2 separate regions of the Homo sapiens genome follow, and region 2 is linked to region 1. Evidence: promoter capture Hi-C in 16 types of primary human blood cells and fetal thymus (Javierre and others, 2016). All regions are on one chromosome and are shown on one strand. The core of a region is centred on a gene start or on the middle of the fragment in contact, and the rest is flanking DNA. Distances in the headings are between cores, read along the strand shown.

Region 1 (2,700 bases), core at 118-2,617:
AGAGGAGCAATCAAGAGGACAAGTCACCTTGGGCCTGCAGGCCATGACAAGGAACTGGATTTTAAGAGCAATAGGAAGTCACTAAATTTTAGTGTCCAAAAGGTTTTAGGCAAGGGAACGAGATGATCTCCGTTTTAAGATCGATCTTGCTACAGTTTGTAAAACTGCCTAAGGATGGTAAAAGACTGAACCTGAGATTTCATTTAGAAGGAAACTAGCGTAGAGCAGGTGAGAGATGATGGTGGCATGGTCTAGATTAAGAAAGGCCCTTGGGAAAATTAACGGCCCTGCCCTAATATTTTTGCAGAAATGATCCTTTATGATTGTGCTGCACAAATCCCAAATGAGGTGAAGGATGTTGTCTTGTCCTATTATGAACTTTTCTGGGGAAAATGCTCTCTCCAAAATCAACATAAAATTAGATCTTTGTCAGTTCTAAGTATTAGAACATAAAATCTTAACCAAAGTTGTTAAACTCAAAATAGATTTTCAGCATGTAATTTTCATTTTCTGGAAGGTGATTAGGAATCTTTCCAAAGAGATGACACATGGCTTGAGAACTGGGGGCGGGAAGTCAAAGGAAGCAGCCATTAGGTCTCCACGCTGAAAGAATAGCTAAGTGCAGAGGCCTTGAGAAGGGAATGAAATGGCCACGTTCAAGGAACAGAGGCAGCCCACTGGCTGTAGCAGAGTAAATATCCATGGTATGTGGTCCACATTTACTGAATGTCCAAGACATGTCTTCTAATTCGTCTGTCACCAAAGTGGTCATAAGCAGTCGCCATCAATAAGAAACAAGCAGAGAAAGGGCCTACAGTTCAATTTATTTTTCAGTTGCCTCACAAAAGGCTAAGAAAAACTTAGTTTCTGGTGAACCCAGGTAGACATGCTCATTTTAAAGAGAATGAATATATCTAGGAAGAGCCTGGCAGTATATTCCCAAAGGCGTGACAATAAAGTTCCTTAACGTGTAGTCAGCACCCTCAAACGTCAACACGTCTGGAAAATTCGGAAGCGTTTCCTCCTGTCAGCGGCCCTTCAAGCTACCTCATACAGGGCAGCCTCTCCTACCCAGACCCGGAGCCTATCAATCGACGAGAAAACAGCTTCCCCTCACTGGGCGGTGCGAACCAACTCTGCACGATCAAGTCGGATAGAGGACTGGCAACCGCGGGCACTACAGGGCAGTCCTTAACGTCATATCCGGTTGTCAGCTCGGCCGCCTCCGCCTAACCAGAAGTCGCAGATGTGACGATGCAAAAACGCCCGTCGGGGGCGCGTCTCTTTCAGCAGCCAATGGGCTCTGCCCACCTTCGTCCTCGTCAGCATTTTGTCTAATCGCGGCCTGTGACGCTCGAAGGGCGGGGAGCAGAGGGAGATACAGAAACCGACAGGGGCCAGGCGCCCGGTGGCTCCGAAGCGGGGAAGTGGGACAAGATGGTTTACATCTCGAACGGTAAGTTGAGAGCGGGCTGTGGCTTCGACCGGTGACTTGTAAGATCGGACTCCAGGTTCCTTTCATCGTCGCTCGCTGAGTCTTGAGCCCGGTGCGGCTTCCCCGGGCTTAGCGCCCCGCGGCCGGGCGGAGCTGGACCGAAGTCGCCTCGGCTTGCGGCGCGTCAGCCGATGGTCTCTGAGCCGGCAGTCGGGGGCCGAGGTCCCGCCGGCCTCACGTTGAGTACTGGGAGCCCTGCAACCCCGCCTTCGTGCAGCAAGCGCTTGATTGTGGATTTGCGAGGGTGGTCTTTCCTCTCTCGGGTGTCGGTATCCTTAAAACTAGTAAGGACAATGATGCCGACGCTGTACACGTAGCGCTTGTGCCCTGGACAGTGTTTCAGTTATTTGCTTATCGTCACATTCAATCCTGTTTTACGGGTGGAAACTCTGAGGCTCAGATAGATTAAATAGCTTGCCTGGGCTATTTAAGTCACAGAGGTAACTTAATGGCTGAGTCGGGATTCGATCACAGGTAGGCTGACGTCAGCGTCCTTGTTATCTGTTATGCTGCCTCTGTCTACAACGTGTAAAAAGACCGAGCCGACCTAGGATGATAATTAGATGAAAGCTTTGCATAGGCTTTTTCCCCAGGAAAGGGTAGCTAGTCAAACATGGAATTTTTTGCTCGAATTTCAAGGGGCATGGGAAGAAGTACTATCTTCCCCTAGGAGCAAGTTAATTATTACCGGAATGGAGAATCCGAGAGACTTAATTCTGCGAACCCACAAAGAAGATGACCGGAAAGGAAGGACATGACTGTGTCAGATCAGTGCTAGAGCTGCCTGCCCACCTGTTTGACTCAGGTGAAATTCTTTGGTACAGTCTTAACAAGGAGTTGTGGATCATTGGAACTAGGTCTTGGTTCTATTTGAGTCATCTGTTTTTCTCCAGAGACGAGTAAGGTAGTCAGTGAGGAGCCTTCTGGCTGACTGCACTTTTGCATTTCTTGACTTTTAAAAATCTCCCCTTCTCATCTCCCACTTAAAAATCTTTGAAACAAGTAGATTGATGGACACTACAGAAAAGCATCAAAATTTCATCTTAGTTTTGGGCGCTTTCAGACTTTAGTCTGTTTTATAGCCTGTTTTATAGCCTTTGTGATATAAGCTTAAGGCTGGAAGCTTCTGTATGAATTATTGAATAATTCCTTGTATTTGTTGTGTCTTACTGTGTTCGCATTATTTCATTTGGTCCACATAAGTA
Region 2 (2,700 bases), core at 49-2,548, 190 kb after region 1:
CTGGAACCTATCCTTGGTCCTGTTAGGGCTGTCAGTCTCCACTCCACCCCCTGTGAATAAGGAAGGAGGCCAGGCTTTGTGGATCTAGAGAGTGAGCAGGAGCCGATCTGAGCCCAGACACGTGCTCTGACCTCCCAGCCCAAAGAACACCTGCTGTCTCAAAGAAGTAAGGACTCCAGTGTCTCGCCATTCACATGTACCACACCCTGAGAATGGTTTGGGGTTTCTAGGCCTCCGGGGTTTCCTGACACATGGGAAATACATAACTCAGCTCTAGGTAAATTCACCAAATGATTCTCTGAACTCTGAAAAAATCACAACTCAATCCAGAATCACATCCCTGAGCAACAGTAAGAGGGCTTGGCATGTCATGTATCTGCAGGAAAATGAATTATATAATCTGTTTTCTTAAATACATCTCAAAGAAAAGTGGACCTTCAGTTCTATTATTCACCAGAAAAGTATCCTAGTACAAATCTGTTTGCATGTTTTGATTCCGAACTTAGAATACTAAATTCAGATGGTTACATACAAACAAGGTATTCTTACTTTGGGTCCATATCATATATGGGTTCTTGGGAAAAAAATTATGAAGATAGTAAAAGAGTTACCCTGAGAAGCTTAAGGACATTCATTTTATAATGCATAATTACATACATTATATACATTTTATAATGTATTATAATTATATAATTATATTTTATTTTTAAATTATATAATTATATACATTTTATAATGTATAATTACATACATTATAAAATGAACGTCCTTAAGCTTCTCAGGGTAACTCTTTTACTATCTTCCTAATTTTCTTTTGTAATATTTTATGCCTTTTTAACATTACAAATATAAAAATCCCATTTCTAACAAGCTGCATCACTGTTGTACATTTTCCACTGCTGGGACACAGGTAAGCAGGCATAAGTAAAACTCTACTCTGACTAAAATTCCTAGGAGTAAAAAACCCTGCCAAGTCCTGGTTTATGGCCCACTCACAATGATGGTCACTATCACAAAAGCTCATATAACAAAGCTGCTGATATAGACCCTCTGAACTGATTTTAGACAGTTCTGAATGGCTGAATATTTAGCAGGAAGGTATTATTTATTGATGTGGACAGAGGTGAGGTTTATACAGTAGAAATCTGTTGGCCACAGGGCAGGATGGAGGAAGGGGGCAGGGAGGTAGAGTCCCTGTGATAAACCCAGATAAATCCTTGGCCCTCCTACACCACTCTGGGCTCTTCGTCTGAAGACCTGGCTTCTAGTCCTAGCTCTGTCACTGCTGTGTTCTGAGCTTCAGTTTCCTCACTTCCAAACAGACACAACAATACCTGTTCCGCTGTTTCACAGGAATTAAGCAAGACATTCAGTAAGGCTTTGAAAACACAAAGAGTGGTATCAACGTGAAGTTCAAATGTATAATAGTTGTTGAATCCAGACATAAGAGAGACATTCAAAAGGCAAATGGAAGAGCTTTCTCAAATTATCAAAGGGAGAAAAATTAGCACTAGCTGTGAATGGGCTCTAAGCTGCCACAAACCCGTTAGGATTGGGAGACACATAGAAGGACACATGGGTCCCAAGGCTCAGAGTGATCGCAATGAGCTGGCAAACCCACTGCCAATCCTGTACACTATCTGCTCAGTTGAGAATAACCCATTCCCATCACAACTGACCCTCTGATCCTGAAAATCACACCTCAAGTCCGAGGCACCTTCTATCAAACTTTGCAATGATGGGAAAAAAGTTACTCCACTTTGCATAAGAATTCATCATATTCTAAGAATCCTATTACTAAGAGATTGTTTTACAAAGCTTATTTAATAAAGCTATTGGTAGAAACCAACAGACTTTTGCAAGTGACTAAAAATCCAACAACTGTTATATGCTAGGAGTCTTCTTGTTCCAAACCAGAATTTTGGTTATGGTGTGTCTGATCAAAAGATAAATAAGAAGTGCCTGGATGAAAAAAAAAAAAAAAGCAATAAAGTGTGCTACCCTTTACACACGAAAAACTGGGAAATAAAAGGAGCATATTTCTCTCAGGTGTATCTAAAAGAAAGAGCAGAAAACAAGGGATGGGAATGAATTAGGCCAAAGGAATCAAGGTTGGAGTGACACTCTTAAGTATACCTTTTTCTATAGTTTTGACTTTGGGAACCATGTTAATGTTCTTCACCTTAAATTTTTAAAAATTAAGTCAGTAAGGATGAGATGAAGGGAAAATACCCCTAAACTGAAAGTGATTTGAAACAAACAAATCTGTAATTCAAATGAATACCATAACCAGACTGAAGGAGAAAGACAAAACTAATTCAAATAGCTCATGAATATTTGACGACATACTCTCAGTCTTGGGTAGGATTGGAGTGAGGGATGAACTACAAACAAATGCTGAACTCTTTTCAGTAGCTTTGTTTTTTGCAGTGATGTGGATGAGACCATTCTGAAACTATCTTAGACATATTACAGGATTTAGCCAGTGAGTACATGTGCTAATGCTGCTGGGAGCCAGAGTTCTCGCTGTGGAAGGAGGGACACAGAAACACGGAACAGAGAAGAACCCTCTGGGGACAGGCTGGAATTGAAGGTATAGGTGTGAACTGATGATTTCTAAAAGATGTTTATTTTAAAGTCTGATTTCCAATGTCTGATTTTTAAAAGAGGCTGATATGTGAGTATGTGTATGTATCAATG

Evidence for each region. Contacts are between HindIII fragments. The CHiCAGO score rates a contact against its expected background, and 5 or more counts as called.
Region 2: a contact is called between a fragment that was not itself captured here and the fragment with the promoter of SELENOK in region 1, in 1 of 17 cell types (M2 macrophages). The highest score is 7.3, in M2 macrophages.

The regions. Positions count from the first base shown.
Region 1 is chr3:53,890,526-53,893,225 of GRCh38, reverse strand. SELENOK (selenoprotein K) reads left to right here and starts at 1,367. Exons shown (of 5, transcript NM_021237.5): 1 at 1,367-1,456. The coding sequence starts at 1,438. RefSeq lists enhancers at 1,089-1,388, 1,279-2,179. The HindIII fragment of the contact is 7,183 bases long and covers 1-2,067 here.
Region 2 is chr3:53,698,091-53,700,790 of GRCh38, reverse strand. The region is part of intron 8 of CACNA1D (calcium voltage-gated channel subunit alpha1 D); the gene reads right to left. Among named protein-coding and RNA genes, the nearest start is that of CHDH, 150 kb to the left of the region's middle. The HindIII fragment of the contact is 1,044 bases long and covers 777-1,820 here.